Regions from separate parts of the Homo sapiens genome. Here all the other regions are linked to region 1. The links are contacts of gene promoters, found by promoter capture Hi-C in blood cells and fetal thymus (Javierre and others, 2016). All regions are on one chromosome and are shown on one strand. Each heading gives the region's core, a stretch centred on a gene start or on the middle of the fragment in contact. The rest is flanking DNA. Distances are from core to core; before and after follow the strand shown. Region 1 holds the start of SF3B6 (splicing factor 3b subunit 6). Region 2 has its middle 30 kb from the start of ITSN2. Region 3 overlaps ATAD2B (ATPase family AAA domain containing 2B). Region 4 has its middle 10 kb from the start of ITSN2. Region 5 overlaps ATAD2B (ATPase family AAA domain containing 2B).

Region 1 (3,922 bases), core at 713-3,212:
AAAAAGCAACAGAGGCTGGGTGCAGTGGCTGGTCCCTATAATCCCAGCACTTTGGGAGGCAAAGTGGGAGGATCACTTGAGCCCAGGAGTTTGAGACCAGCCTGGACAACATAGTGAGACCCCCATCTCTACAAAAATTTTAAAAAATTAGCCAGGCATGGTGGTGGGTGTAGGCCTTTGCAAACCTTACCACCATCACTCCTGCTAACACCTGAGTTGGGCTGTACCCTCTTCCCTGCCCATCCCAGGAGATGACCCTGATTCTTGTTTCTTGGAGAAAATAGACATGACCAATTGAAATACTTTTCATCTATATCCAACTACTTTCCCTCTATTACTACGCCAACCTTCATCTACTCAAAACCTTCACTTCTAAACTCAACCTATCTTTCTTCCATATCATGTTTCGCACACTCTGCTGGATTGCTCCCATTGGCATAAAGATACACCTATATCACACATCTTTTAAAAAGTCAACTATCTGGCCGGGTGCGGTGGCTCATGCCTGTAATCCCAGCGTTTTGGGAGGCCAAGGCAGGTGGATCACTTGAGGTCAGGAGTTTGAGACCAGCCTGGCCAACACGGAGAAACCCTGTCTCTACTAAAAATACAAAAATTAGCCGGGCATGGTGGTGGGCACCTGTAATCCCAGCTACTCAAGAGGCTGAGGCAGGAGAATTGCTTGAACTCAGGAGACAGAGGTTGCAGTGAGCCAAGACTGTGCCACTGCACTCCAGCCTGGGTGACAGAGTGAGAGTCCATCTCAAAAAAAAAAGTCAACTATCATCCAATTTCCCTACTTCCTATTTAAATGAGAACTCATGGACAGAGTGTCTTTGCTGTTTCCATTTTCTCAACTTCCACCATCTTTTCACCCCACTGCAATCAAGTTTTCATCCACTGAAATGATTCCTATCATCAAGGTCACCAAAAGTCTCCATTTACATATACAATGGTCAATTGCTTGTCTTTTCTTTCTTTCTTTCTTTCTTTCTGTTTTTTTTTTTTTTTTTGAGTCAGGGTCTTGCTCTGTCTCCTGGGCTGAAGTGCTGCGCAGTGGCACAATCATGGCTCAAGGCAGCCTTGAATTCCTGGGCTCAAGCAATCCTCCCACCTCAGCCTCCAAAAGTGCGGGGATTACAGGCATGAGCCACCTCACTCGGCCTAACTTCATCTTACACCTCTAAGCGTTTTACTGTTGACTAATCTCTTTTTTGAGTTTTTTTTTTTTAAAAGTTTCCGTAACACTGTACTCTCAAACACTAGAATGTAAGCAGAAGGACTTGTTTTATTCACTGCTGTATTCCCAATACGTAAGACTAGTGTCTGGCACATAGTAGCTATTCAATAAATATAATTGATGAATTATGTCCCACATGGCAAGCAGAATACATAGTAGGTGCTCAAAAAATATTGTTTTAATTAATGTGTTAATGAAGGATCCGAAAAGCACCATGATCTGAGGGGAATCCCAGGTCCTAGTTGTTGGTGAACCATTAAGTTAGTTGAGGACTCTTCTGAGATATCGACTTTAAGTCAAGGAGATAATCCTAACGCCAGGTCCTTAGGTGCGGGTCAAGCAAAGAGGCTATAGGGGTAACACTATCACTGACACTAGGGTAGAGACTGAGGAACTCTCAAAAGGGGTGGGGACAGAAATGTGGCTCAAGGAGCATATCTCTGAGGATGGGGCCGGATAGTGTCTTCGCTGACAGGATAGGAATTCTGGAGTTCTCCGCTCTGGGGACGGAGGAGGAGCAAGAATGCTCCGATCCACGCCGCTAAGAAAGTCAAACCCGAAGTTCTCCCACCCTCCGCAGAACACCCGATACTCACGTTCGCCCTCTTGGCCGCTTGCATCGCCATCTTGGCGGGCTGATGAAGTTACCGTAGCAGATACTGAAATTCCTCCGGAGCTCGCTCGGCTTCGGGGGTTACACCGCGTTAGATGCAGGACATCAACATCCAGGACCCGCCGGAAGCTGTTACAGCGGAATAGCGCCGTCTTACGCTGAGACGCGCTGACGTAGCAGCCCCCTTCGAATAGACTCCGGGGTAAAACCGAGCCTGAGCGAGACTCGAGGCCGGAAGATGGAAAGGCGAGAGTCCAAGACACTTCCGGGCTCTGTACCGTAAAGGGCGGGGCGTAGCCTCCAAAAGGCGAGATGTTCCGGTCGGGGAGGCCCTGAGCAGAGGAACCCGGGTGGAGAGGGCGGGGCCTGAGGAGGGCGGAGAGCTGGGGCGGGTCTCAGGTGAGTAACTGGGGAGCGGAGGAGGCGGGGCTTGAGCAGGGTTATGACAGGTAGGGCGGGACCCAGGTGAGTAGCGGGAGGGGGCGGGGCCTGAGGAGGGTGCGGAGAGCTGGGGTGGGGCCCAAGTGAGTATCCGGGAGGGAGCCGGGCCTGAGCAAGGCGGTGAGCTGGGGCGGGACCCAAGTGAGTAATGGAAGGGGCGGGGCCTGAGGAGGGTGGTGGCGGTGGGGCGGGGCCCAGATGTGTAGCGGGAGGTGGTGGGGCCTGAGGAGGGTGGCGAGAGGTGGGGTGGGGCCCAGGTGAGTAGCGGGCGAAGGCGGGGCCTGAGGAGGACTGAGCTGGGGCGGGACCCAGGTGAGTAGCGGAAGGGATCGGGGCCTGAGGAGGGTGGTGGAGGTGCGGCGGGGCCCAGAAGTGTAGCAGGAGGTGGTTGGGGCTGAGGAAAGTGGTGGAGGTGGGGCGGGGCTCAGATGTGTAGCGGGAGGTGGTGGGGCCTGAGGAGGGCGGCGAGAGGTGGGGTGGGGCCCAGGTGAGTAGCGGGCAGGGCTGGGGCCTGCTGTGGTGCCCACTGGTTGCGGGGCGCGCGGGCAGGTGCCGGAGGTGGTGGGCCTGGGCCTCTAGCTGTGCGCAAGGCGGAATATGTGGGGTTCTGGCGGCTTGTGTCACGGCTGACGCTGTAACTATACCCAGAATCTCCGTCCCTGGAGGGGCCCTCAGGTTGAGCGTCAGCTGATCGGGCCTCAGTAATCCCCGCTGCGACGCCCGTCCGGACTCCCACCTCAACCCCGCCGCGGCGGCCCCAGTCCGCGTGCCACCCTTCCAGTTCACTCTTTATTTCCTCATATCAGCTTTAAACGGCTCTGGAGGAAGCACCGGGTTTCTTGGCCTGTCTATTGTGAATCTTCTCCAGGTTTGCTCTGGAAAGGCCTGGGGTGGCCGCGTCCTGTCCTGCCCCATCCTCCTTCACTGGGGCAGTTCCAGGACGATCTTGCCTATGTTCTTGTTGGCCTCCATGTACTTATGGGCCTCCTGGATTTCGGTCACTGGGTAGATTCTGTCCAGAACCGGCAGCAGACGTTGGGGGCCCTCCGTGGAGAAGTGAGGCAGAATTTGCTCCGTGAAAGCATTCACCAGCATTTGCTTGTACTAAGACAAGGGAAAGGAGATCATCAGCCTGGGGAGAGAGCCTCACCCTGCCCTCCTCATCCTCCTCAGCCTTCTTGCTCTCTCTGAAGCCACGTATCTGAAAAAGCACACAGGGACACTTAACCCCTCACTTCCTAGCATGTGTGTGAAATACCCTTGAAGGAGTCATGTGCCATCTCAGAATATGTCCGATAGGTATATTGTTAATTTTGAGGTGAAAGCATTGGAGAAATTGTAGTTTCAGAAAAGGCTAGCTGACCTGTCTCTTCTTGCATGTAGCAAGTCATAAAGATTCCTCTGAGAGGGGTACCCTCCCCATACTAGGGCAAAAAGCCCTTATCACCAGAGACTGGAAACGGGGCTGCAATGGAACTGAATAAATACACTTAAGGAAGTAACCCTTATCTTCCACTAGTTTTACACCCCCCACCCCCATATATCTCCTAGTGACTTCCCTAGAAATTTACTATCCCTAGCCAGATTTTGTCTTATTTCTTCTCAAATTTATTGTTCTTTGTCTAAAA
Region 2 (3,922 bases), core at 598-3,097, 310 kb after region 1:
CCTCCCAGGTTCAAGAAATTCTTGTGCCTCAGCCTCCCGAGTAGCTGGGATTATAGGCATGTGCCATCATGCCCAGCTAATTTTTGTATTTTTGGTAGAGATGGGGTTTTGCCATGTTGGCCAGGCTGGACTTGAACTCCTGGCCTCAAGTGATCGGCCCACCTCAGCCTCCCAAAGTGTTGGCATTACAGGCATGAGCCACCGTGCCCAGCCCCATTTTTAATTTTTGAGGAACCACCGTAACTGTTTTCTGCAGCAGCTTCACCATTTCACATTCCCACCAACAGTGCACAAGGATTCCAATTTCTCCACATCCTCGACAATGCTTGCTATTTTCTGGAGTTTATTTATTTATATAGTTTTAAAAATGAGATGGAGTTTAGCCATGTTGTTCAGGCTGGTCTCAAACTCCTGAGCTCAAGGGATCTGCCTGCTGCAGCCTCCCAAAATGCTAGGATTACTGGCTTGAGCCACTATGTCCAATCCTGGAGTTTGTTTTGTTTAGAGTAGCCATCCTAATAGTGTGAAGTGGTATCTCACTGTAGTTTTGATTTGCAATCCCCTAATGATTAGTGATGTTCCCCTCCTTTTCTTTTCATTTTGCCTTCTTTTTTTTTTTTTTTTTGAGACGGAGTCTTGCTGTGTCGCTCAGGCTGGACTGCAGTGGCGCTATCTTGGCTCACTGAAACCTCTGTCTCCCGGGTTCAAGTGATTCTCCTGCCTCAGCCTCCCGAGTAGCTGGGATTACAGGCACCTGCCACCATGCCCAGCTAATTTTTATATTTTTAGTATAGACGGGGTTTCACCATGTTGGCCAGGCTGGTCTCAAACTCCTGACCTCAGGTGATCCACCTGCCTCGGCCTCCTAAAGTGCTGGGTTACAGGCGTGAGCTACCACACCCGGCTGCCTTCATTCTTAAAGGATGTTTTGCTGGCTATAGAATTCTGGATTGATTTACTTTTTTCTGATCCTATACTTGAAGATATTGTTTCACTGTCTTCTGATATCTATTATTTATAAGAAGAAACAGCATTCATTTGTATCATCATTCCCTGCATATAGTGAGTTGTTTTCTCTGGCTTTCAAGATTTTCTCTTTATCTTTGGTTTTCAGCATTTTGACTATACTGTGTGCAGGTATGGTTTTCTTCATATTTTTTTTTTTGGTGGGGAGAGGGTTACTTAGCTTCTTAAATCTATAAATTTATCTTTCAACCTATTTAGAAAATTTCAACCTCTTTTTCTTCAAAATAATTTTTCTGTCCCATATTCTCTTCCTTACTTCTGAGACTCCAGTTACACATATTTTAGCTCTTTTGCTATTTCCCCTCAGTTTCCTGAGAGTCTATTCATTCCCGCCCTCTCCCATCCATTTTCTGTCTGTTACTTAGATTGAGTAATTTTTATTGATTTCTCATCAAGTTTTCTGACTTTTTTCTCCTGTCACCTTCAATCTGCTTCTAAGCCTGTCCAGTAAAGCTTTAAATTTCAGATATTAAACTTTTCAATTGTATAATTTACATTTGGTTACTATAGTTTTTATTTCTCTGCTTGTATTTTCTTTCATTAATTATGAGTAATATTTTCCTTTATATATGTACTCTGTTTGGCACAATTTTAATAGCTGCTTTAAAGTCTTTGTTATAACTCAACATTTGATGCATGTCAGCATCAGACTCTTGAGTACTGGGGTCACATTTCATTTTTATGTCTAGTAATTTCAGATTGTACCTTGGATATTGTAAAAGATACCTTGTAGAAGTTTTGGATTCTGTCACATTTCTCCAAAAGGGTTTGTTTGTTTGTTGTTTTAAGTAGGCAATACATATATCCCTTTCTTCTTTTGTTTAAATGTCAATTTTAGTTTTGCCAGTTGGGTGCAGTGGCTCATGCCTGTAATCCCAGCACTTTGGTAGGTGGAGGCAGGAAAATCACTTGGGCCCAGGAGTTTGAGACCAGCCTGGGCAATGTAGACAGACATCATCTCTACAAAAAATAAGAAATTCGCTGGATATGGTGGCATGCACCTGTGATCCCAGCTACTTGGGAGGCTGAGGGAGGAGGACCCCTTGAGCCTAGGAGGTCAAAGTTGCAGTGAGCCATGATCATGCCATTGCCCTCCAGCCTGGGTGAGACCCTGTCTCTAAAAAATAATAATAATAATTTTTGTCAAAGTGAGATATACACATAATTTTAAAAAGTCTAACACAATGACAAAGCTTGTAATGACAATAGTAGAACACTATACCACCATTTCCACCCTGAAACCTGCCCCTCAGGAAGAAAAACTTTTAATTCTTTCAGCTGTTTCTTCTATTTACATCTACTTTTCTAAAAATATTTCTAAAAATATTCATATATATAGATATACACACATAATTTTCATATGTACATATATATGTATATTCATATATACACACACACTTTTTTTTTTGAGACAGGATCACTCTCTGTTGCACAGGCTGGAGGGCAGTGGCGTGATCATGGTTCACTGCGGCCTTGAACTCCTGGGTTCAAGTGATCTTCCCACCTCAACCTCCTGAGTAGCTGGGACTGCAATTGTGCACCACTATGCCTAGCTAATTTTTAATTTTTCTTTTGTAAAGACAGGGTCTCACTATGTTGAACAGGCTGGTTTCTAACTCCTGGGCTCAGGTGATCCTCCTGCCTCGGCCTTCCAAAGTGTTGGGATTACAGGCATGAACCACCATGCTTGACCTCTCATATTTTTATTTATATGTTATCTATTGACGTTCTATTATGGAGTCACAAAATTTAGCACACTTAAAACCTCCTTCCCTCTCTTCATACTCCCAATATATTTGTAGTACATTTTTGTTTATATCAATATTTATACTGTTTATATTATCTCACTATATAACACTTGCTCAATGTTAAGCCAAGTAATATAATACTGATAAGATAAATTTTTATTCATATTAGAATTAATAATTGCCCTGTGGGTTGTTTTAGCAGTTTTCTATGTAATAATTACTAGTTCAACCTTAAACTTAGCAATATAATGGTGATACCCCTCTGAATGTTGATAATTCCTATTGCCTTCAGCTATGCCTGGTATCCCTATGTTTAGATGCTGTAAGTTTCTTAACACACAGTCAGTCTTCTGCTGGAGTGGGAAAGAAGGTCCATCTGTCTTTGAAAAAGGAGTTCTGGCCGGGGCCGGTGGTTCGTGCCTGTAATCCCAGCACTTTGGGAGGCTGCGGCAGGTGGATCACTTGAGGTCAGGAGTTCGAGACCAGCCTGGCCAACATGGCAAAACCCTGTCCCTGCCAAAAATATAAAAAATTAGCCAGGTGTTGTGGTGCACACCTGTAGTCCCAGCTACACAGGAGGCTGAGGCAGGAGAATCGCTTGAACCTGGGAGGCAGAGGTTGCAGTGAGCTGAGATCACACCACTGTACTCTAGCCTGGGTAGGCAACAAAGTAAGACTCTGTCTCAAAAAAAAAAAAAAAAAAAAAAAAGAAAAGAAAAGAAAAATGGAGTTCTAGGGGTCTGAGTGAGCCATGTAAGGTTTTTCAATGGATCCTTCTCTTTTCATCTGTAACATGAATTTCTGCCTTTAGAGATACCTGGTGCCTCCAAATTCTGAGCATGTCCAAGATCCTCTGGCAATATCAGTTTTCTTCTCATTAGCATACTCTTGGTTTTAAGCTTTCATAATTTGAGTAACACTAGTAATTTCTATCTTCCAGAAATCTGCTGACATTGCTTGTCTGCACCTGTGTTCGTTCTGTGTTTTGTCCCTCCACATCCATTAGCCATATTTTTCTGCCCCGCTCCGTATCCTGAGAAGATAACACCTATGGACTTGCACTCCTTTGATTTTTGGCATCCAGTTCGATTCAGCTAACTGGAGTGACTGGAAGAAGAATGCAGAGTGGGAGGGGATAGAATAATAGA
Region 3 (3,922 bases), core at 1,022-3,521, 300 kb before region 1:
CTGTAATCCCAGCTACTCAGGAGGCTGAGGCAGAGAATTGCTTGAACCCAGGAGGCAGAGGTTGCAGTGAGCCGAGACAGCGCCACTGCACTCCAGCCTGGGTGACAGAGGAAGACAGCGTCTCTTTATTTATTTATAAATAAATAAATAAAATGAGGTAGTACAGTCAGCCCTTTGTATCCACAGGTTTCAAAGCACACATATGGAGGGATGACTATAATACATATGTTAAACATTCTAAGAAACTTCTAGACTGTTTTCCAAGTCAGCTGTTTCATTTTACATTCCTACCACAGTGCATCATAGTTCCTGTTACTCTACATCCTTGATTACATTTGATATGGTCTTTTCAGTTTTAGACGATTATTACAAGTGTTTAATGGTGTCTCACTGTGGGTTTTTTTTTTTTTTTTTTTTTGAGACAGGGTCTCATTCTGTCGCCCAGGCTGGAGTGCAGTGGCATAATCTGGGCTCACTGCATCCTCTGCCTCCTGAGTAGCTGGGATTACAGGTGTGTGCCACCCCACCCAGCTGATTTTTGTATATTTAGTAGAGACAGGGATTCACCATGTTGGCCAGGCTGGTCTCCAACTCCTGACCTCAGGTGATCCACCCACCTTGGCCTCCCAAAGTGCTAGGATTACAGGCGTGAGCAACTGTACCCGGCCTCACTGTGGTCTTAATTTGCATTTCACTAAAGATTAATGAGGTTGACCGGACACAGTAGCTCACATCTGTAATCCCAGCACTTTGGAAGGCCGAGGCGGGCGGGTAACCTGAGGTCAGGAGTTCGAGACCAGCCTGGCCAAAATGGTGAAACCCCATCTCTACTAAAAATACAAAAAAAAAAAATAGCTGGGCATGGTGGTGTGTGCCTACAATCTCAGCTACTCGGGAGGCTGAGGCAGGAGAATTGCTTAAACCCAGGAGGCGGAGGTTGCAATGAGCTGAGATCATGCCACTGCACTCCAGCCTAGGTGACAGAGCAACTCTGTCTCCAAAAAATAAATAAACAAATAAATAAATAAATAAAAAGATTAATGAGGATGAGTATCTTTTCATGTGTGTATTTGTCTTCTGTATATCTTATTTGGTAAAGTGTCTTCAGCTCTTATGTCCATTATTTAAATTGGGTTATTATTAAATTCTGAGACTTAATATTCTGGCTATAGGTTTTAAGTTCTTGTATACAGGTATGTGATCCATTGTGAGTCAACTTCTGCATACAAAGTCTTTTTTTGCATGCTGATATCCAATTGTTCCAACACTGTCTATTGAAATTTAATCTACTTTCTTCATTGAACTGACTTTACATCTTTGTCAAAAAGCAATTGACCCTCTATGTGTGCATCTATTTCAGGACTCTATCCTATTCCATTGACCTATTTGTCAAACTTCATGCCAACATACACTGTCTAGATTACTGTAACTTTTTAAGTCTTACAATAAAGTAGTATTAAGTCTTCCAGCTGTTTTTATTTTCCAAAGTTGTTTTGACTCTAGGTCCTTTTCATCCTCATATGAATTTTAGAATAAGCTTGTCAATTTCTATCAAATGCCTGCTGGAATTCTGATAGGATGGTGTTGAACCTGTGGTTCAATCTGGAGAGAAATTACATTTTCATAATGTTGAGTCTTCCAATCCATAAGCCATGACATATATCTCCATTTATTTGGGTCTTCTTTATCTCACTAATATTTTATAGTTTTCAATGTATAAGTCTTACATGCCTTTTGTCAGATTTATCTATATTTCATGTTATTTTTTGATGTTATTTCAATTTCCTGTTTGTTGCTAGTATATAGAAAAACAAGTGTTTTACATGCTGATCCTGTCTCCTGCAACCCTAACTTCACTTACATGTTCTAATAACTTCTTTAAATATTCCATAGGATTTTCTATGTAGACATCATACGTCTACAAACAACAACAGGTTTACTTCTTTCTTTCTGGAAGTAGGGATGCCTTTATTTCTTTTTCTTACCTTACTGCATTGGCTGAAAGCTCCAGTTTAATGTTGATAGAAGTGGTAAGAGCAGACATCCTGGTCATGTTTCTGATCTTAAGGAGAAAGTACTTACTCTTTCATCACTAGTATGATGAGAAATGTAGGCTTTTTGTAGACATCATTTATCACTGAACTGAAAAGCGGGGATAGGGGGAATAATTTTGTTCCAGTAAAAAAATTTGACTTACAAAAACAGGCTGTCAGCTTGATGATAGTCTGCTGACCCCTGGTTTAGAGCATCTACTTTTAATGTGATGTATGTGATTATTGATATGGTTGCTATTTATTTTCTACTTGGCCTATATGTTTTTTGTTCCCTTTTTCCTCTTTTTCTCACTTCTCTTGGAATTACTGTATACCTTTTTATGATTCCATTTTATCTCCTTGTTGGTTTATTAGCTCTAACTCTATTGCGGCCCCTGTGTGAACTTTAAGGAATATTCCCTCTCCTTCTCTGGCCTCAGATAGTTTTCTCACACATATGCACTAACCAGTACTTAGTTAAACACTAGGGTAGGACCTCCTGGAGATAGCCAGAGTGTTCTCTCTGTGCAGCTTTCTTCTTTCTGGTAATCTGCCCTGCAAACCCAAACCACTGTGGCCTCTTCAGATTCCAGGTCTGGCTCCCCAGTTCAGAGGACCTCCAGAATATGCCTGGGCTGCTCCTCCTGGGGCTGGTATCTGGAAATTGTCTCCAGGCAACCACACTACTCCTCTTATTTGTTTCTATCTTTTGGGAATCACTGTCCTGTGTTGCCTGGTGTCCAATGCCTTCCAAACAGTTTTTCTTTAAATATATTTTGTTCATTTTTTTTTTCATTGTGTCATGTGAGGGGGTAAATAAATCGAGTCCCTTTTACTTCATCTTGGCCAGAAGAAGAAAAGAAGAAGTCTCCTGGTGTCTTTTAAACACTCTTTGAAAACCAAACTTTAATAGTTGTGCAACAATCCAAAGTAGGATGTGCCTTAATTTTTCAAAAGTATTGTTCTCTTTTTGGAAGCTTTAAGTTGCTTCTAATTTTAGCTACTATAAATAAAAAACTACAATGAACATCAACATCCTTAGAAGTAGCTATACTTTCAAGTTGACAATACAATGTTTGTAGCCTATGCAATACCACAGCTTTCCACCACTGGCTTTCTACCTCGGCTTGAATGAAGAGAAACTAAAAAAAAAGGTAAGATTAAATCTAAAGGTATGGATCTGGCATATTGTCTCTAAAATAACTCAATGATTGGTCTTTCTGCTTTTTATAAAGTGTATCTTCTATCCCAACACTACCCTAAATTAAGCAAGAAAAAAGAATAAATGAAGAAAAAAAATCCATAAAAATTTCCCACTAGTATGGAAGACAAGGAATATATTCTTTTAAAAAAATCTGCATTTGAGAGGGAACACTGCTTTTTTGGGGGGATGGGGGTGGGGGACAAGGTCTCACTCTGTCACCCAAGCTAGAGTGCAGTGGCATGATCATGCCTTATAGCAGCGTCAACCTCCTGGCCTCAAACAGTCCTCTCTGCCTCAGTGCCCCGAGCAGCTATTAATAGGACCACAAGCATGCGCCACCACGCCTGGCTAATTTTTGTACTTTTTGTAGAGATGGTGTCTTGCCATGCCCAGGTTTCACACTGGCCTCACATTCCTGGGCTCAAGCGATCTGCCTACCTCGGTCTCCCAAAGTGCTGGGATTACAGGTGTGGGCCACTGTGCCGGGCCAAGGCATTGCTTTTTCATGTGCCTATCATTATAATTCTTTTCAATCATTGTTTAGAAGATTGTCTAAGATTATACATAGCATATAATCACAAACTTAGAAGAATATTCAAAGTAGAAGGGATGTCTATGATAATCCTAGGTTCTTAATCTTTTTGACCTGGATTCATATAAGAACAGAACATGGTTGGGCATGTTG
Region 4 (3,922 bases), core at 647-3,146, 290 kb after region 1:
TATTTTCCTTGTGTAATAGAATAGTTCTAGGCAATAGAACTCTTCAAACATAATAAAAATCTCTATTTTTATGATTTTCAGTTCAATGTTTTCTAAGGCTTTTGATACATTCAAAATAAAGTTATTCTGGGCAAAGACAGTGATCAAAGCCTTGCAAAGAACAGCTCCTTCAGTGAAATCTACTGAACAAAGCTTCCTTAAGCCAAAGGCTCACTGTGGTGAGATTTTTTTTTCATGTGTTTCAAAAAGGAATAAGCCTCACTTCCCATTTCAATAATTTCAGCAGGTGCTTTTCTTATGCCTTTGTATAGGGAAACATAAAACTCTTAATTTCGTATGTAAGTGACCAGGTATTTGTATCAGTTAAAATGTTTGGTTGCAAATAACGGGGATCAACTCAAAGGGCTTAGGCAAAAAAAGAATTAATTATATACAAGGTAAGTGGAGTGTGCCAGTGTCACCAAGGACAGGAGTGGGGCCAGGCAAAATGGAATTAGGGACTGAACACTGTCCAGGGACCCTCTCTGTCTCACCTCTGCACTTGTGCTTCATCTTCTCAATAGAGAGAGGGTGGGATGTATAGTGGAGCACAGATAATTTTTTTTTTTTTTTTGAGACACCATCTCATTCTGTCACCCAGCCTCAAGTACAGTCGTGAGATCATGGCTCACAGCAGTCTCAACCTCCCACACTCAAGTGATCCTCCCCCAACTTAGCCTCCCAAGTAGCTGGGACTGCAGGTGAGTGCCACCATGCCTGGCTAATTTTTTTTTTCTACATGTTGCCCAGGCTGGTCTAAAACTCCTGTACTCTAGCAACCCTCCTGCCAGCCCCCCAAAGTGCTGGGATTACAGGCATGAGCCATCACGCCTGGCAGATCACTCTTTTTTTTTTGAGATGGAGTCTCGCTCTGTCGCCCGGGCTGGAGTGCAGTGGTGCGATCTCGGCTCACTGCAACCTCCACCTCCCGGGTTCAAGCAATTCTTCTGCCTCAGCCTCCCGAGTAACTGGGACTACAGGTACATGCCACCACACCCAGCTAAGATGGATTGATATATTTTACTTCCTTTAGATGCTTAGGAAGAATCTAGGTGATAGCAAAGGGCTTTCTTTTACTATTGGATTTTGTCATTTGGAACAACAGGAGAGCGTAACTGAAATTGTATTACAACTCTAGCATTGTCTTCTTAAGTTCAATGTTCTTTCCTGGAACAGCAGCAATGTCATTGTTAGAAGATTAAAAATATAAAATTCTACCTTCAAATCAAAAAATTCTGGTTAGAATTATAGTAACTTCTTAGGGATTTACAGAAAGAACTGGCCGGGTGCACTAGCTCGTGCCTGTAATCCCAGCACTTTGGGAGACCGAGGCGGGTGGATTACCTGAGGTTGGGAGTTCAAGATCAGCCTGGCCAATATGGTGAAACTCCATTTCTACGAAAAATACAAAAATTAGCCAGGCGTGGTGGTGGCTGCCTGTAATCCCAGCTACTTGGGAGGCTGAGGCAGGAGAATCACTTGAACCTGGGAGGCGGAGGTTGCAGTGAGCCGAGATCGCGGCACTGCACTCCAGCCTGGGCAACAGAGGGAGACTCTGTCTCAAAAAAAAAAAAAAGAAAAAGAAAGGACCTTGAACTTTGTGCCTTTCAAGTTAGCCTTGCTTTTAATTTGATGTAGTGTGTAGTCTAAATGGATTCAGTTTTGTCATTTATAGGGTAAGCCTTGGGGCAGGGACCAGGTTTTGACATGTACTTATCAGCTTATACTACACTCTCAATATTTAGAAAATAATAATTAATGGTTGGGTATTGAGTGTTTGGCACAAAATCCTGACTCTAAGTATAATTAACTTTAAGAGCTATTTTGGTGTCTGATGAACGCTTTTCATAGCTTCTTAAATGAGTCAGGAATGTATCCCATGGCTGAGACATGTTGAAATTTAGAATACACAAATATAAATTGCCTAATGAACATGAACATCATGTGATTCTAATTTAAAAACTGTAAAAGGCTGGGCACAGTGGCTCACACCTGTAATCCTAGCACTTTGGGAGGCCAAGGCAGGTGGATCACTTGAGCACAGGAATTCAAGACCAGCCTGGACAACATGGTGAAATCCCATCGCTACAAAAAAAAAAAAAAATTAGCTGGACGTGATGGCATGTGCCTGTAGTCCCAGCCACCTGGAAGGATGAGGTAGGAGGATGGTTTGAGCTCAGGAGGCGGAGGTTGCAGTGAGCAGTGATCACACCACTGCAACTCCAGCCTGACGGACAGAGCCAGACCCTGTCTCAAAAACAAACAAGTTGTAAAAATACTGGAATTGGTATCATCAAGATTGGATTCAGTGTTTAGAAGCCCTAAACGCTGAAACACCCATGTATGAAATTAAATAAAAAGAAAAACATGAAATAACTTAGCCAGGTGTAGTGATGTGTGTCTGTAGTCCCAGCTACTTGGGAGGCTGAGGCAGGAGGATGGCTTGAGCCCAGAAATTCAAGGTTGCAATGGGTCAGGATCATGTCACTGAACTCCAGCCTGGGCAACAGAGCAAGACGTTGTCTCAAAACCCAAAAACAAAAACAAAAAAATTGCTTGATAACTATTTCAACACTTTTTTTTTTTTTTTTTTGAGATAGAGTCTCACTCTGTCACCAGGCTGGAATGCAGTGGCGCAGTCTTGGCTCACTGCAACCTCTCCCTCCCAGGTTCGAGTGATTCTCCTGCCTCAGCCTCCTGAGTAGCTAGGACTACAGGCATGTGCCACCACGCCCAGCTAATTTTTGTATTTTTAGTAGAGACAGGGTTTCACCATGTTGGCCAGGATGGCCTCGATCTCTTGACCTTGTGATCCGCCCGCCTCGGGCTCCCAAAGTGCTGGGATTACAGATGTGAGCCACTGCGCCCAGTTCAACACATTGTTTTTTGTTTTTGTTTTTTTTTGAGACAGAGTCTTGCTCTGTCGCCCAGGCTGAAGTGCAGTGGCACATGTCAGCTCACTGCAAGCTCCACCTCTCGGGTTCAAGCCATTCTCCTGCCTCAGCCTCCCAAGTAGCTGGGACTACAGGCACCTGCCACCACACCCAGCTAATTTTTTGTAATTTTAGTAGAGACGGGGTTTCACCGTGTTAGCCAGGATGGTCTCAATCTCCTGACCTCGTGATCCATCAGCCTTGGCCTCCCAAAGTGTTGGGATTACGGGCGTGAGCCACCGCGCCCGGCCCTCAACACATTTTTTATAAAAATGTGGAATTATTTCTAAATAACTATGTGTGTGTGTGTGTGTATGCAAATGTGCAGACAGGTATGCTCTAGGCCTGCCCTTGCTTGGCCAGGCCCAGGAGAATGTGCTTACTTTGCTTTTTTGGGTGCCCCTTTTGCAGCACCCTTTTTGGGTGTTCATTAGAACCCAGGATGTAGAGTAGACTGTGTAGACTTGGGTTCCTATCATGGAAACTCTAGGTGGGTAAGGCGGCAACCGAGAAAGCTACAGCCAAGTGTCAACTACTTTGTGACCATCTCAAGGGAGAGAGCTGTGCCAGGTATCTTCCAATTTATATGATAGGAGCTTAGTTTTATACTTGTGATGAGAATTTTGCCCAAGCTTGATCCTGACTGAGAAGCAAGTAAGCAGTTCCTGAAGGCCTTATGTGGTTGTTCTCAACTTCTTCACCAAATTCCCACCAGATTTTATTATCCCACCCCCTATTCCTGACTTGGATTTTTTTTTCCCTAATTTTAAAAAACTGCATTTAATATGTAAGTTTGTTGCACTGGACATGGTGGCTCATGCCTTGTAATCCCAGCACTTTGGGAGGCCAACCTGAGTAGATCACTTGAGCTTAGGAGTTCAAGACCAGCCTAGGCAACATGGTGAAATTTCATCTCTACAAACAATACAAAAATTAGCCTGGCATGGTGG
Region 5 (3,922 bases), core at 456-2,955, 280 kb before region 1:
CACGATTTCGTTCAAGAATGGCAAAACATTTCATTTTAACTATTTTCTCTGATAATTTTCAATACTATGTTAACACTTTATGAATACAAAAGCATACCAAGAACAGGCCTACAATAATCCATGGATATTCTTACCAGGTTACTACCAACACCTTAGAATCCAACATTTTATAAGTGGGATAAATTATACTTCTCTAAGTTCACTCCTAACTTTATCTTCTGACAGTCCTAGCCTCAAACTTCATGGTGTACCAAAGACAAGCCTTCCATAATTCCCAGAACAAATCACGCTCTGTTTCACATTGGTTCACACTGGTTGTGATACATAGTATTCACTCATTCCTGACCCCTTCTTTAATGCACCACTCAAGCTGATGCTTTCTGTGTGATGCCTTCCCTAACTTTCCCAGATGCACTTAGGCACACCTTCCAATATTTCTGAAAAAACAGTTCAATAATGTTCAGTAAATTTTTACAGATGTGTAGCCATCACAAGCACATTTTAGAACATTTCCATTACCCCAAAAAGTTTCCTCAGGCCTATCTGCAGTCAATCCCCACTCCCACTCCCATGTCCCAGCCTAACAACCACTGATAATGCTTTCTGTCTCTAGAGAATTGCCTCTTCTAGACATTTTGTATCATACAACTGACAGTCTTTTATGCCTGGCTTCTGTCACTTAAAACTTCAGGTTTTTCCAAGTTGTAGTATGTATTAGTATTTCATTCCATTTATTGCTGAATAGTATTTCATCACATTTTGTTTAGCCATTCACCAATTAAGGAACATTTGGATTGTTTCCACTTTTTGCTAGTATGAGTACAACAACTAGAAACATTCCCATACAAATGTCTTTCTGTGAAAGTATGTTTTCATTTCTTTTGTGTAGATAACTAGGAGTGGAATTGCTGAGTCATACCATAAATTTATGTTTAACTTTGGAAAGTGGCTGCACCATTTTACAATCCCACCAGCAGTATATAAGGACTCCAGTTTCTATATCCTTGCCAATACTTGGTATTCTTTATTTTTGATTACAGCTATTAGGTTGGTGCAAAAGCACTTTTTTTTTTTTTTTGCAGCTTTCAATGGCAAAAAACGCAATTACTCTTGCCCAACCTATATTTTAGTGGGTTGCAGTGGTATTTCATTCCTGAATGACTGATAATGAGCATCTTTTCATACACTTATCATCCATTTACATATACTCTAAGGAACCTCATATAAAAGGAATTATACAAAATTTGTCCTATGACTAAGTTAGCATAATGTCTTCAAGCTTCATCCATGTTACAACATGCATCAAAATTTTCTCCTTTTTAAGGCTAAATAATGTTCCATTGTATATGCTACATTTTGTTTATCCTTTCAACTATCAATGGACACTGAGGATGTTTCCACCTTTTGGTTACTATGAATGATGCTGTTGTGAACATGGGTGTGCAAATACCTGTTCAAGTCCCTGCTTTCAATTCTTTTGAGTAAGTACCTAGAACTTGATTGGCTGGATCATATGGCATTTATATATTTAAGATAATGTCATACTGTTTTCCACAGTGGCTATACAATTTTACATTCCCACCAGCAATGCAAAAAGGTTCTCCTTTTTCCACATCCTCATCAACATTTGTTAATTTCTGTTTTTTTTTAATAACAGCCATCTTTTTTTTTTTTTGAGACGGAGTCTTGCTCTGTCGCCCAGGCTGGAGTGCAGTGGTGCAATCTCGGCTCACTGCAAGCTCCGCCTCCTGGGTTCACGCCATTCTCCTGCCTCAGTCTCCCAAGCAGCGTGCCACCACGCCCAGCCTAATTTTTGTATTTTTAGTAGAGACGGGGTTTCACTACGTTGGCCAGGATGGTCTCGATCTCCTGACCTCGTGATCCACCAGCCTCAGCCTCCCAAAGTGCTGGGATTACAGGCATGAGCTATGGCACCTGGCCAACCTTTTTGTTTTATCGAATTTATTAACACATTCCTTAGAATTGTTAGTCCCCAGTTTTGAAGGTAGGGTTCCTGCAACCTTTGTAATAAGAAAAATTAATGGTTAAGAACTTAAGATCTAAAAAAAAAAAAAAGAACTTAAGATCTCAATAACAAAAGGTGTGAAAAAGAGGTCAGAAATAAACCTAAGAAAGCTTTCATAAATAAAATTTGCTTTGCTCAAAACAAAATAGGATATCAACCCATTAAATAAAAATAGAAATAGTTTACATATCTCAAAATAGTAACTATGTTTACCTACTATCCTATTTCACTTAGGGAAAAAAAACTTGTGGCCGGGCACGGTGGCTCACACCTGTAATCCCAACACTTTGGGAGGCTGAGGTGGGTGGATCACGAAGTCAGGAGATCAAGACCATACTGGCTAACACAGTGAAATCCCTTCTCTACTAAAAATACAAAAAATTAGCTGGGCGTGGTGGCGGGCGCCTTTAGTCCCAGCTACTCCAGGAGGCTTAGGCAGAAGAATGGCGTGAACCCGGGAGGCAGAGCTTGCAGTGAGCCGAGATTGTGCCACTGCACTCCAGCCTGGGCAACAGCGAGAGACTCTGTCTCAAAAAAAAAAAAAAAAAAAAAAAAAAAACTTGAGAAGATTTCCTTCCTCTTAAATTTTAAGAATCACGTAATTGTTTTATTACCAAAATATTAATATTAAAACAGTTCCCTTGTATCTTATGATCATTAATCTGAGTTTTCAATGCCCCTACTTGATTTTTCTAATTGAAGTTACTGATTTTCCCCTCCCAGGTCCTACCATAAACCTAGAGAGACAATGACAAGAAACATTTAAGATAACAAAATGCTATATGTAATCTTACTTTCATCAGCATAGCTGAGGAATATTTCTTTAAAATTCATTTCCAATATACTGAATTATATAATCTTAAACCTGCTCATAATAATTTAATAACAAAGCAGATACTGTGAATGTCTTCAGAAACAGAAATACAATTCTGGCCAAGGTTTACATTCCTTCCTACAAATATCTCTAATTTATTTGCTTCCTCCCTTAAGAGTCTTTTTTCTGTGCTCAACCTTAAATTAACTCTCTTCTCTAATTCTCCATAAATACCTTGCAATTCCCATATATCTCAAATAAAATTCTCCAAGTATCTTCAGAAAGGGTTTATAAAAGTAAATTTACTTACACTACAATTCTGCATGGTTCTCAAGTGGTCAAAAATTTAAAGAAAAAATATTTTAAAAGAAAGAATTATGCAGAAAGCGAGTGAGGCTGGGCAAGGGTTACTTAAATCCTACGTGATGATTCAACTGTTAGTTCCTTTTTTCATGCAGCAAACTTTTACAGAGTAATTCCAATGTGTTAGCACTGTGCTAGGAATGGGAGAAATGATGGCCAGTAACACCTGAAAGTGCTAGTGGTCTAGAGACCAGAGGTGCACAAACTTTTTGGTCTCAGGACCCCAAAAAAGCTTTTATGTATGTGAGCTATATGCATCAATATTTACAGATTTTAAATAAGCCCATTAGATATTAACACTAACATTAAAAGAATAAAACATATATTCTTTTGAAAAATATATTTTTCCAAAATATAGAAAGAACATAAAACACATAAAACAAAATTTAGCGAGAAAAGTGGCACTGTTTTATCTTTTTTTTGAGACAGCGTCTCACTCTGTCACCCAGGCTGGAGTGCAGTGACACGATCTTGGCTCACTGCATCCACCTCCCAGGCTTAAGCGATCCTCCCACCTCAGCCTCCTGAATAGCTGGGACTACAGGCACGCGCCATCATACCCAGCTAATTTTTGTATTGTTTGTAGAGATGGTGTTATGCCATGTTGCCTAGGCTGGTCTCATACTCCTAGGCTCAAGTGATCCGCTTGCCTCAGCCTTTCAAAGTGCTGGGATTACAGGCATGGGCCACCACATCCAGCCAGCACTGTTTTAAATGTT

Evidence for each region. Contacts are between HindIII fragments. The CHiCAGO score rates a contact against its expected background, and 5 or more counts as called.
Region 2: a contact is called between a fragment that was not itself captured here and the fragment with the promoter of SF3B6 in region 1, in 1 of 17 cell types (endothelial precursors). The highest score is 6.0, in endothelial precursors.
Region 3: a contact is called between a fragment that was not itself captured here and the fragment with the promoter of SF3B6 in region 1, in 3 of 17 cell types (naive B cells, monocytes and M0 macrophages). The highest score is 6.4, in naive B cells.
Region 4: a fragment that was not itself captured here is called in contact with the fragment with the promoter of SF3B6 in region 1 in 3 of 17 cell types (endothelial precursors, M2 macrophages and M1 macrophages); the score reaches 6.6 in endothelial precursors.
Region 5: a fragment that was not itself captured here is called in contact with the fragment with the promoter of SF3B6 in region 1 in 13 of 17 cell types (naive B cells, total CD8 T cells, total CD4 T cells and 10 more); the score reaches 10.8 in naive B cells.

The regions. Positions count from the first base shown.
Region 1 is chr2:24,074,364-24,078,285 of GRCh38, forward strand. SF3B6 (splicing factor 3b subunit 6) reads right to left here and starts at 1,963. Exons shown (of 4, transcript NM_016047.4): 1 at 1,837-1,963. The coding sequence starts at 1,866. It overlaps TP53I3 (tumor protein p53 inducible protein 3), which reads right to left. Exons shown (of 5, transcript NM_004881.5): 5 at 3,070-3,398. The coding sequence ends at 3,216. It also overlaps a transcript of FAM228B not described here. RefSeq lists enhancers at 1,249-1,781, 1,782-2,313, 1,848-2,077 and a silencer at 2,188-2,837. The HindIII fragment of the contact is 6,266 bases long and covers 1-3,922 here.
Region 2 is chr2:24,389,017-24,392,938 of GRCh38, forward strand. No RefSeq gene overlaps it. Among named protein-coding and RNA genes, the nearest start is that of ITSN2, 30 kb to the left of the region's middle. The HindIII fragment of the contact is 740 bases long and covers 1,478-2,217 here.
Region 3 is chr2:23,769,316-23,773,237 of GRCh38, forward strand. The region is part of intron 22 of ATAD2B (ATPase family AAA domain containing 2B); the gene reads right to left. Among named protein-coding and RNA genes, the nearest start is that of ATAD2B, 160 kb to the right of the region's middle. The HindIII fragment of the contact is 1,473 bases long and covers 1,536-3,008 here.
Region 4 is chr2:24,368,873-24,372,794 of GRCh38, forward strand. No RefSeq gene overlaps it. Among named protein-coding and RNA genes, the nearest start is that of ITSN2, 10 kb to the left of the region's middle. The HindIII fragment of the contact is 3,412 bases long and covers 191-3,602 here.
Region 5 is chr2:23,790,406-23,794,327 of GRCh38, forward strand. The region is part of intron 19 of ATAD2B (ATPase family AAA domain containing 2B); the gene reads right to left. Among named protein-coding and RNA genes, the nearest start is that of ATAD2B, 130 kb to the right of the region's middle. The HindIII fragment of the contact is 857 bases long and covers 1,278-2,134 here.